2 separate regions of the Homo sapiens genome follow, and region 1 is linked to region 2. The links are contacts of gene promoters, found by promoter capture Hi-C in human tissues and cell types (Jung and others, 2019). All regions are on one chromosome and are shown on one strand. Each heading gives the region's core, a stretch centred on a gene start or on the middle of the fragment in contact. The rest is flanking DNA. Distances are from core to core; before and after follow the strand shown.

What was found. The method cuts DNA at HindIII sites, captures the fragments that hold promoters and counts their contacts. A contact is called where the count stands out against the background at its distance.
Region 1: a fragment that was not itself captured here is called in contact with the fragment with the promoter of NRIP3 in region 2 in 1 of the 25 tissues and cell types used here (mesenchymal stem cells).

The regions. Positions count from the first base shown.
Region 1 is chr11:9,479,414-9,485,864 of GRCh38, forward strand. ZNF143 (zinc finger protein 143) reads left to right here. Exons shown (of 16, transcript NM_003442.6): 7 at 59-133. Among named protein-coding and RNA genes, the nearest start is that of ZNF143, 22 kb to the left of the region's middle. The HindIII fragment of the contact is 7,913 bases long and covers 1-5,394 here.
Region 2 is chr11:8,999,812-9,005,924 of GRCh38, forward strand. NRIP3 (nuclear receptor interacting protein 3) reads right to left here and starts at 4,190. Exons shown (of 7, transcript NM_020645.3): 1 at 3,951-4,190. The coding sequence starts at 4,124. It overlaps NRIP3-DT (NRIP3 divergent transcript), which reads left to right and starts at 4,277. Exons shown (of 3, transcript NR_183663.1): 1 at 4,277-4,732. RefSeq lists an enhancer at 3,367-4,286. The HindIII fragment of the contact is 10,801 bases long and covers 1,573-6,113 here.

The DNA of each region.
Region 1 (6,451 bases), core at 188-2,687, 480 kb after region 2:
CCAGCCTAAACCATTATCAAAATGTAAAACATTTTAAAGCTTTATTTTATTCCTATAGGTGTCCATTGATGGAAGTGAAAGTGTAGCAGGTACTGGAATGATTGGAGAAAATGAGCAAGAGAAAAAAATGCAGGTATGTAAAGCTACTTTTTAATATAAAAATCTAGCTTAGCATTTCTGTGCCCTTCTGTGGATGAAAGCAAGAATAGGTAACTCACTACCTCTCTAGGAAAATCTCACCAGTTCAGAAAAACAATGTATGTATTGGGCAGCAGCTTTCTCAAACTGCCTGAGGTCCCAGTGTTCATTGGTGGATGCAAAATGATGCTAAAGAAATGGAAGTATCACAGAAATCCAGGTGAAGCTTGTGTGCTGGATTCCAAGGCAGTTTTCTGGACAAGGCAGTTGTGGAGACCAGGTGACTTCCTGACTGCCCCCACCCATGGCATGGCAATTTGTGGATACTTTTTCTGGGACTTCATCATGACTCTTTCTAAATAATCCTCACTGCTTTGCTTTTTGTATTTTTAAATTTCTTCTTCTTCCAGCTGATTCCCTCCATATTTTCCTTTTCAACTTCTGAAGGGAGAGTCCAGCCTAGTTAATCTTGGACAAAGCTGTTTATACTTTTTCTACCAGACTGCTTCCTGGTCTGCAGGTGGCCTGTGGGCTGGCTTCCCGTGGTTCAAATGTTCACCCTGGGTCCAGTCATTGGCTGCCCCTTACCTAAGTAACAGCCCAGAGCACCAGTGCTTCTAAAAGTTTTGTAGTAAGTACAAAGTAGTCCCAGGTGCATTCTTGCATATCTCCTACAATCAAAAATTCAAAACTTATGTTATTCAAGAATTGTTTTTGTGTTGGGATGTTCGTGTGGAGGGTATGCTTGGAGCTTGTATAATCATTGTAGTACATTCCTGCTTTAATGCTGCTCTTTATTTTCTCAGCAATTTTCTCTAATATTTTGTTGACTGTTCCTTTATAGTAGTTTTTTTTTCATTCTTCAGAGTTTTATTATATTTAACTCCTAAAGTTACTACTCAGGGTCACATTTATAACCTTGAGCATTAACATGACCACTTAGTGACATTGAGTGATACTGTTAGGGGTTATCAAGAAGATTTTACATTTATATTAATAGTAAGTGATAAAATAACAGGAATCACTGAAATCACTTGTAGAAATATGGTTCTGGCCGGGCGTGGTGGCTCATGCCTGTAATCCCAGCACTTTGGGAGGCTGAGGCGGATGGATGACTTGAGGTCAGGAGTTTGAGACCAACTTGGCCAACATGGTGAAACCCTGCCTCTACTAAAAATACAAAAAATTAGCCAGGTGTGGTGGCTAGTGCCTATAATCCTAGCTACTCAGGAGGCTGAGGCAGGAGAATCGCTTGAACCCAGGAGGCAGAGGTTGCAGTGAGCCAAGATCGCGCTGTTGCACTCCAGCCTGGGCAACAAGAACGAAACTGTCTCAAAAAAAAAAAAAAGAAAAAAGAAAAAGAAATATTATGCTTCTACGCGTTGCTGAATAGCCAATATTTCTGTTTACCAGCTGAAGTGATGCTACAAAGTGGCAATAGAATAAACACAGTTTTCAGTTCACTAAGCCCATCAGCTTTGATGCTGTGTGATTCGTAGCAAAATTTTCAGGTCTCAATTCATATTCATATTTTGTGAATGAAATGAGACTTTAAGGCAGGTGTGGTGGCTCACACCTGTAATCACAATACTTTGAGAGGCTGAGGTGGGAAGATTGCTTGAACCCAGAAGTTTGAGACCAGCCCGGGCAACAAAGTGAGACTCCATCTCTACAAAAAATTACAAAATTAGCAAGGCATGGTGGCACACATTTGTAGTCACAGCTGTTTGGGAGGCGAGGGCAGGAGGATCCCTTGAGCCCGTGGTTTGAAGTTATAGTGAGCTGATTGTGCCACTGCACTCCAGCCTAAGCAACAGAGCAAGACCCTGTTCTCCCCCACCTCCCAAAAAATGAGACTTCAGTATTTTTTATACAGTTCTATGTCAAATCCACCTAAGTCAACCTCTACTAAGATGCAAACACAGGGTAAATATGTGCGGGAGTTATAGGTCAGTGGCTTGGAGTGTTGGAGTGGCCCAATAAGTTCTCTGTCTTATTGGTAACTGACAAGTACATTTTAAAATAATAGAATATTTTAAAGAAAAGCAGTTGTAGGCTGGGTCCAGTGACTCACGCCTGTAATCCTAGCACTTTGGGAGGCCGAGGCAGGTGGATCACCTGAGGTCAGGAGTCTGAGACCAACCTGGCCAACATGGCAAAACCCCATCTCTACTAAAAATACAAGAATTAGTTGGGTGTGGTGGTGTGCGCCTATAATCCCAGCTACTTGGGAAGCTGAGGCAGGAGAATCGCTTGAACCTGGGAGGTGGGGGTTGCAATGAGCCAAGATTGTGCCACTGCACCCCAGCCTGGGCAACAGAGTGAGACTGTCTCAAAAAAAAAAAAAAAAATTTCAGAACTCAAAACGTAACTAGGAATTCAGAACTGCTGAGGCAAAATGTCATTAAAAAAACCCATTACTCTTTTTTTTTTTTTTGAGGTGGAGTCTCACTCTGTCGCCCAGGCTGGAGTGCAGTGGCTCGATCTTGGCTCACTGCAAGCTCTGCCTCCCGGGTTCACGCCATTCTCCTGCCTCAGCCTCCCGAGTAGCTGGGACTACAGGCGCCCGCCACCACGCCCGGCTAATTTTTTGTATTTTTAGTAGAGGCAGGGTTTCACCATGTTAGCCAGGATGGTCTCGATCTCCTGACCTCATGATCTGCCTGCCTTGGCTTCCCAAAGTGCTGGGATTACAGGCGTGAGCTACTGTACCCGGCCCCAACTCTTTTTTTTTTTTAAGACGGTGTCTCGCTCTGTCGCCCAGGCTGGAGTGCAGTGGCTCGATCTCGGCTCACTGTAAGCTCCGTCTCCCGGGTTCACGCCATTCTCCTGCCTCAGCGTCTGGAGTAGCTGGGACTACAGGTGCCCGCCACCATGCCTGGCTAATTTTTTGTATTTTTAGTACAGATGGGGTTTCACTGTGTTAGCCAGGATGGTCTCGATCTCCTGACCTCATGATCCGCCCACCTCGGCCTCCCATAGTGCTGGGATTATAGGCGTGAGCCAGCGCACCCGGCCAAAAAATCCCATTACTCTTTATCTGTAGACATATTACCATTTGGTATTGGTACCAGTAGACAAATAGAAGACTACTGAATGGGATTCTTTTTTTTTTTTTTTTACTGTAGCTTTTTTCTCCTTTGCCTTTTGTACCTCTTCCTTACAGACTAGATCTGCAATGTCCAATACGGTTGCCACTAGCCATATGTGGCTGTTAAGCACTTGAAATATGACTAGTCCAAATTGAGATGTGCTGTAAGTGGATTTTGAAGACATAGTACGATAAAAATAATGTAAAATATCAATAATTTCTTATATTGATAACGTTGAAATGATATTTTGGACATATTGTGTTAAACAAAATAATTACTATTAATTTCACCTGTTTCTTTTAATTTTTTTCAATTGGTTACTAGAGATTTTTTGTTTTATTTTATTATTATATTTATTTATGTATTTTGAGATGGAGTCTTACTCTCTTGCCCAGGGTGGAGTGCAGTGATGTGATTTTGGCTGACTGCAACCTCCACCTGCTGGGTTCAAATGATTCTCTTGCCTCAGCCTCCCGAATAGCTGGGATTACAGGCATGCACCACCACACCCAGCTAATTTTTGTATTTTTAGTAGAGATGAGGTTTCGTCATGTTGACCAGGTTGGTCTCGAACTCCTGACCTCCAGTGATCAACCCACCTCAGCCTCTGAAAATGCTGGGATTACAGGTGTGAGCCAACATGCCTTTTTTTTTTTTTTTTTTTTTTTTTTGGAGACGGCATCTCGCTCTGTCACCCAGACTGGAGTGCAGTGGCGCGATCTCAGCTCACTACAACCTCCACCTGCTCAGTTCAAGCAGTTCTCCTGCTCAGCCTCCCGAGTAGCTGAGACTGCAGGCACATGCCACCGTGCCTGTCTAATTTTTTGTATTTTTAGTAGAGACAGGGTTTTACCATGCTGGCCAGGCTGGTCTCGAACTCCTGACATTGTGATCCGCCCACTTGGCCTCCCAAAGTGCTGGGACCACAGGTGTGAGCCACCATGCCTGACCCCTATTTTATTTATTTATTTATTTTTTGAGACTGAGTCTTGCTCTGTCGCTTAGGCTGGAGTGCAATGGTGCAGTGTTGGTTCAAGTTATCCTCCTGCCTTGACATTCCAAAGTCCTGGGATTATAGGTGTGAACCAATTTGCCCGGCCGGAATTCTTTTTTTTTTTTTTTTTTGAGATGGAGTCTCACTCTGTCACCAGGCTGGAGTGCAGTGGCATGATCTCAGCTCACTGTGACCTCCGTCTCCTGGGTTCAGCGGATTCTCCTGCTTCAGCCTCACGAGTAGCTGGGACTACAGGCACATGCTACCATGCACAGCTGACGTTTGTATTTTCAGTAGAGAGGGGGTTTCACCATGTTGGCTAGGATGGTCTGAATCTCTTGACCTCGTGATCCGCCCGCCTCAGCCTCCCAAAGTGCTGGGATTACAGGCGTGAGCCACCACACCCAGCTCAGTAAATTTTTAATCACATATGTGGCTTGCACTTGTGACTTATTATATTTCTCTTCATTAGTGCTGGATCAGAAGTTCATGACTTCACCATTCTCTAAAATGATTAATTACCGTATTTAAGGTTGAGAACCTAGTACTTGGTTTTTTGTGGTTTTTGTTTTTTGAGACAGGGTCTTGCTTTGTTGCCCAGGCTGGAGTGCAGTGGCCTGATCTCAGCTCACTGCAGCCACTGCCTCCTGGGTTTAACTGATTCACCTGCCTCAGCCTCCTGAGTAGCTGGTATCACAGGAGCGTGCCACCATGCCCGGCTAATTTTTTATATTTTTGTTAAAGAAATATTTAAAAAAATGTTTTTTATATTTCACCTTGTTGGCCAGGCTGATCACAAACTCCTGACCTCAAGTGATCCACCTGCCTCGGCCTCCCAAAGTGCTGGGATTTCAGGCGTGAGTCACCGTGCCCAGCCTGAACCTTGCTTTTCTAAGTCTCTTTTTTTCTACCTCTAAAAGAAAGGTATTAATTAGATCCATGGTTATCTTAGGGGCAAAAGTTTGGTGTTTTTTTTTTTTTGTTTATTTTTTGTTTTTTGAGATGGAGTCTCACTCTGTCGCCCAAGCTGAAGTGCAATGGCCTGATCTTGGCTCACTGTAACCTCCACCTCCCAGTTGAACTCCTGACCTCCAGTGATCCACCCACCTCAGCCTCCCAAAGCACTAGGATTACAGGCGTGAGCCACCGCACCTGGCCAAAGATTTTTTTTTTTTTTTGAGACGGAGTCTAGCTCTGTCGCCCAGGCTGGAGTGCAGTGGCGCGATCTTGGCTCACTGCAAGCTCCACCTCCCGGGTTCACGCCATTCTCCTGCTTCAGCCTCCTGCATAGCTGGGACTACAGGCGCCCGCCACCACGCCCGGCTAATTTTTTGTATTTTTAGTAGAGACAGGGTTTCACTGTGTTAGCCAGGATGGTCTCCATCTCCTGACCTCGTGATCTGCCTGCCTCGGCCTTCCAAAGTGCTAGGATTACAGGCGTGACCCACCGCGCCCGGCCGCCAAAGATTTTTTAAGATAATATTTTTAGTGTTTTTTTTAATTCAGGTAAAGTACAAAGAAGAAAACCCAAAATGACCCGTAATCTTACTCTACGTATCTATTTTACATATTTTTAAATATAAAAGTAATCATGTTTATGTTTAGAAAATCCAAATAGTATAGATTAGTAAAAATAAAAAGTGAGGGATCTACTGCCTGATAGTAATTATTGTTAGAAATCTGCTTTGTTGTTGTTTTTTTCTCTCTCTCTTTTTTTTTTTTTTTTTTTTTGAGAAGTCTCGCTATGTCACCCAGGCTGGAGTACAGTGGCACAATCTTGGCTCATTGCAACCTCTGCCTCCCAGATTCAAGTGATTCTCATGCCTCAGCCTCCCAAGTAGCTGGAATTACAGGCTTATACCACCATGCCCAGCTAGTTTTTGTATTTTTAGTAGAGACAAGGTTTTGCCATGTTGGCCAGGCTGGTCTGAACTCCTGCCCTCAAGTGATCCACCTGGCTTGGCCTCCCAAAGATTATAGGCAGGAGCCACCGTGCCTGGCCTTGTTTTTGTTTCTTAATCTTCCTGGCAGTGCTGATGTGTCTCATGGTTCTTTAAAAATTCCTCTGGTGCCACACTTCTAGGATTGTTTCCTTTCTTCAAAGAGAATACATTTTTAAAAATTCAAGTTGTTTTTATTTTATCCTCCCCCAAGAATATAGATTATTTACATCATACAAGTTAACAAACACCAGATTGTAAGTTATAGCTGCCATGTGCATTAGGCC
Region 2 (6,113 bases), core at 2,940-5,439:
ATGTAATCTTATCAGATAGGCCTTGCCGGACAACCCTGTACAAAATAGCCAGACTCCACCCCACCCCAGTCACTGCCTTCCCTATTCCCCTTACCCTGATTTATTTTCTCCATAGAAAATATTTATTATTATTACCTTATATACATTTACTTAATTTTACTTTCTGCCTCCTTCCTCCCACAAGAATGAAAGTTCCGTCAAGGCAGGAACTCAGTTTTGGTTCACTATTATATCTCCAAAGCTTAAATTATTGCATGACATGTGTAGTAGGTACTCAATAAATATTTGTATATTAAATTAACTGATCTGTCCTTCCCTGCCCCCAACCTATAAACCTGTTTATAATGAGAAACTTTTCTGTCTTCCTATTTGTGTCTTAGCCCCTAGACTGTGTCCTGAACACAGCAAGTATTCAAATAATGTTTGCTATTACGAGGATGCAATCACGACTCTGCAAATCTTCAGTTTGTGCCAGATCTTGGTGTTATACTGGTATTTCACGCTTCTCTTCTAAGCCTCTGAAATTCTCCAGCCCATGATTTGTGGTGATATGGATAGCTAATCTATAGGGCACACCACACAGACCTGCTCTAATAGACAGAGATTCTGTTCAGGTATTTTATGGTAAGTTTGCTTTACTGTGTTCAACCATCTTTCCCCCAGCATCATTCCTAATTCTAGTCAGTTTTGAAAAAGCATTTAGCTATGATCAGAAGCAATCATATGTAGGAAAGAAAAACTCTATTGCCAGACAAGTAAGAATATGGCCTAATGCCTACAGGTAAGTATAATATCATTTAGGAAAGACAGCATATTACCACATAACATGACTGTTTTTAAAAATTAAAAAGTCCTTAGCACAATGAGAAAAACTTTTATGAACCTGGTAGCTAAAACAAGATAAATTACAATAGGCAAATTTCCAAGAACGGAGATGTTTTTCTCCAGCTTCACTGAGTTAAAAAAAAAAATCAGGGCTGGGTGTGGTAGCTCATGTTTGTAATCCCAGCACTTTGGGAGGCTAAAGTGGGCAGATCGCTTGAGACCAGGAGTTCAAGACCAGCCTGGGCAATATGGCAAAATCCCATCTCTACAAAAAATACAAAAGTTAGATTGGTGTTGTGGTGTGCACCTGTAATCCTAGCTACTCAGGAGGTTGAGGTGGGAGGATCTCTTGAGCCTGCGAGGTCGAGGCTGCAGTAAGATGTGACTGCAGCTGCATTCCAGCCTGGGCAATAGAGTGAGAACCCGTCTCTTAAAAAAAAAATCAAATATAATATTACTCACTCATATCTCTGGTTTTAGTTCTTAATCTAATACAGAATGAACAATACAAGATAAAAGGATAAAAGCAAAAGGGGCAGACAAAAATATAATTTCCACAGAAGACTTTGTATCAGCCAACTCCAGATACACAGGAATAGGCAAAGGCACTTTCCTGGGGCCAAGAGAACATGACCCCCTTTGATTTCCTATGGTTGCCTTCTGCCAGTCCTAAAAGAGCTGGCAGGCTGGTATCAAGCAGTGAACATTACAGAAACAGCATAGTAAGAGGTAGATAATTCAGAAATCCCAGCGGTATATTCAAATATAGGTTGCTGGTATGAGGAAAAACAACCTACAATCTTCACAAACCCAAAAGTCAATAACAACTAATTTCTCCTCTCTCTTCCTTATCTCCCTCTGATGCTATCCTCTCCCTTTTCTTGGACTCCTTCTATCGAGATTATACTATAAACTACTCCAAGTAAGAACTATTCAATTAATTTTAACATCCTCCAAATTTCCCTTGCAGTGAGAGAAAATTGAGTCAACACTGGTCTATCCCACATGTATTTATAAAGTAAAAGAATAATAATGTACTTCTAAGGTCACTTCTAAGATTGTACTAAGGCTGCAACAACAGTTCCAAGAGAGTTTAAGCATGCTGCCTCACCCCAGCGCTTGCGGCTCTCCTAGCCCTACCTCGGTCTGCCTTGGTTTCTGTAACCTGGCTGTTCTGTGCAATCACTTGTACATTATAGGTGTGAAAACAGTGAGAGAGGGAAATCAACTCCATGACGGTGGGGCACAGAAAGCGTGAACCATGATTCAGAGCCTTACAGTCAACTGTCATGTGTATGTGTCATACTCAAGGCAATATCCTGCTTCTTGAGGCTCCTTCCTCTTTGCAGCCTGCTGCCTGTGCTGTATGCTATCAGCCCTTTGTGACTCAACTGAGACAGACTAGAGTCAGAAAAGCGGATGGAATTCTTACACAGCATGAAGTAGTATAAGAAATCCTAGGCAGAAGGAAGTTCAGGTAGCTCTCAGGGCTAGGAAACTCCTCGACAACGAGGGACAACCAAATCCAGCATTTAAAAACTCTGTATTTTAATTCTTCTCTTAATATAATACTTCCTTCTTTATTGATTGCTGAGCATTCTAGGAACTAGGATAGGATTATTTGGCCTGAAGGAAAGAATACTTCTCGAACCTGATTTGTTAAATGAATCGAGATTGCTTTAAAGTGAAAGAAGGGAAAAGAGAGTTATCTCTTTTGCAGGAGCACATTTCAATCACTTATCACTCTGGGTTAGCATAAATCAGATAAACTATCCTGTGGGTTGTGCAAAAAGCAAAACAAAACAAAAAAACACAACTTGTAAAAAAAACAGAGCAAGATAACTGAAGTAGACAAACTCTGCACAGAAGTAACTAATGGCAGGGAGGAGAAAAATTTTTGTATATTATATTATACTGTGTATAATATAATGTACCTGTGTATCATTAGAGCTGTTAAATTAAAAAAAAAAAAAAAAAAAAAAGGAAATGGATGCAGAAGCTCTGCCCTCCTGGGGCCAGAAATGGCAATTTCAGTGAACTAGGGCCGACAACCACATCCAAAATTAAATATTTCAAAAGCTTAAAATAAAAAATACTAGAAAAATTATGCAGAGCACCTATTTCATTTGTTAAAAGACATTTAATTAGTGTTTCACATATTACCACCCAAATGAATAAAGCGATTGTGAAATTCAAGAAAACAATCAAACTACAAGAAAACTCCAGATAAAACTACAAAGTTAAACATAAACTTGGCCCAGGACCACTACAGTGGCTGAGGGATGACAAATACAGTTCTTTATATTGGTAACCCTTAGCCATCCATCCCATTCTATAGAAAGAGGACAGTACCATCTTTGACCCCAGGCCCCCTGTCCTGAGGTGCTTCTACTTAATGCCAGGAACAACTGTGCTAGAAAAAAAGACTGCACCCACCCCAGCTCCAGATGCACACATTAGCTGGTCGGTGAGATGCAGCAGCCTGGCTTCCTCCCTCTACCCACTCCTTGGGGGCGGGGCTGGAAGAGGAGAATGATGAAGAGATGTTGGGGGTTCAGGAAACCTTCACATTTGGCCCCTTTTCTCTCTCCCCACTCAGGATGGAAGGTCAAAGTTAGGACCAAAACTAGAGAAGTGGGTTTTGCATAGGGGGACAATGGATTCAACAGAAGTCCTCTGGATCTGGCAACTGTCAAAAAACCCTCTTTCCACTTCTTTCCCCCTCACGGAAAGCCATTAGGAATCACCTCTGTCTGGGTCATAGGAACAGCCACACAGCATAGGAGGCACAAGCCCCGTGAACAAAATTCGGTATTAAGAATAAGGAAAAAGAAAGAAGACCCGAGGGCAAGAGGGCAGGGCAGGACCTCTTCTTTCTACTGGAGAAGAGACATCCAGGGAGGAGGCACAGCCGAGGGGAGCGCAAGCTAGAAAAGCTACGACGGAATCCCCACCGAAACCGCAGCAGGGGTACTGGAAGGGGAGGAATCCGCGACGCAGCGACCGCGAGCCAAGGGCAGCGGCGGGCCGGGCCGTGACTCAGTGAAAGCCGCAACGGCCGGGCCTCGGAAAACGGCGGGCGCGAAGCCGCCGGGGCCGGGGCGAGAACGGCGGCGGGGGCTCACCATGTCCTTGGACGAGCCCAGCTTCTTGAGGCCGTCCAGGGGCAGCAGGTCGGCGGAGTCCTTGTGGATGAACTGCACCGCCTGCTTCATCCGGCGCTGCTGTCGCAGTGACGCCGCCTCCCGCATGTCGGTCTCCTTGCGGCCGCCCTCAGTGAGGAGCCCTGAGTAAAACATCGCTGAGGCGCCGGCGGCCCGGTAGCCCACAGCCCCCCGGCAGCCTCAGCCTCGAGCTCCTCCAGCGCCGCAAGGGCCCCGAGCCGCGCCTTTTATAGCCGAGCGTGACGTCGCGGGGAGCAGCCAGTGCGCGCGCGGGGGGCGGGGCCGGCACAGAGTCCACGCCCCGCGCGGCTCCCTCGCGTCCCGCGTCCCGCGTCCCGCGTCCCCTGCTCACCCGGTGGCAAAGCCGGCGAGGAGGCGGCGGCGCTGGTGGGGACTGACCCGGCAGTCCGAGAATCCACCGCGGCCTTTTCACCCAACCGCCCCCTCCTGCGTGGGGGCCCCGCATCCCCTGGACTGGCGTGGGCTCTGGGGCCCGATGCCCTGGCAGCCCCGGCCATCTCTGCCGCTGGCCGCGGGTACCTGCTCACCTGTCCACGCCGTGGCCGACCCGGGGATCACCGACAGCCGGGCCATGCCTCGAGTCCCGCCGCCCGCGCCGCTGCTCGGCTTCTCAGAAACGCACCTCCACGCCGCCAGCCGGGGCTCCAGGGTCCACCGCCCGGGCCCGGAGGACTGGCGACTCCCTCCGAGGTTGGGAGCGCTCCGGATTTCTCCAACTTCAGGTCGGTCCCCACCCACCGGGCCACGTGACTGGGGAGGGGGCAGCCGGTGCAGGCGTGTGGAGGAGGCTTTCGGGACCTCCTCCCCCGGGCACCCTCTGCCTGCAGCCCGGCACCCGGCCCGCGTTTCCGAGCCGGGGGAGCAGGTGCAGTCGGAAGCCCGCGGGTGGGCGTGGGGCGGGGGAGTGGCGAGGGTCCCCCGCCTCCGCGGGAGCGCACGCGGCTGCGAGCCCTACACCTGCTCTCCGACCAAAGAAGCACCTGTTTTTCTCAATAAGTGCTAGGGCTTACCATCTAAAGGATCGTTCACCATCCCTCCAGCGTCCTTAGTAGGAGCGATTGGAACCCGTTTTTCTTCCTGAATAATCCATACTTTTAAGCCATTCTAATCGGGCCTTCAGGCATCCTGGATTCTGGTCTCGACATTGTGATTTGACACAAATCACGTTTTCACTCTGGAAACCACAACTACTCCCTCCACCCCATCACGCAGGAGCAGACCTGGATAAGAAATATGTGCACTCTGCAAAGAACCAATGATAAAAGTAACAATATCGACGCTTACTGAGCCTTTACTATGTGCCAGGTACTAGACTAGACACTTAAAATGCAGTATCTCATTGGATCCTGGCAACAGCTTGTAAGATAGTATTCTCATCACCCCCATTTTACAGGCAAATACCTGATACCTTCTGTCTGGCCTCCTGAATGCTCCTTGGTTCCATTCCAATACGTTGTTCACTGTGCTGCCAGAGTAATCTTCTCAAACGATAAGTGTGATCATCTCACTTCCCTGCTAAGAGCACCTCAAAAGGCTTCCTATTGCTCTTAGGAGAAACCCACATTCTTGCATGGTCTGCCTAGACCCTGCATATTCACTCTGTACTTCAGCCTCATGGGCCTTCTTCCAGTTCCTTCCAGTCACCTGTTGCCAAATGGCCTGCCTTTGACTGTCCTGTTCCCTCTGTGTGCAGTGCCCCCTCCTACCCTCTTCAGGAAACTCCTATGCTTCTTCCAGACCTCAGCTCCATTATCATTTCTTTAGGAAAGCCTTCTCTGACCTTCCAGAGAGAGTGAAGTCTCTCTAATTATATACTATCTATCTCTTGGGCATTTGACACTTTCTGTGGGGGTAGGGGTAGGGGGGTACTGGTTGTTGGATTAATATTTGTCTCCTCCACTGATTGGAACCTCCAGGAAGGTGACTGAACCCATTTTTTGCTTAGCATTGATGCCCTAATATGCAGAGGGTTCTCAAATACTAGTGAAAGGATGGCAAAAAGTTAAGGTCGTACCAAAGAAATCAAGTGGTAAAGCTGGCATTTACTCCCAGAACCTGTGCTGGACTACCTAGACCTGGAGAGACTGGGTTTGGCCTCATGAA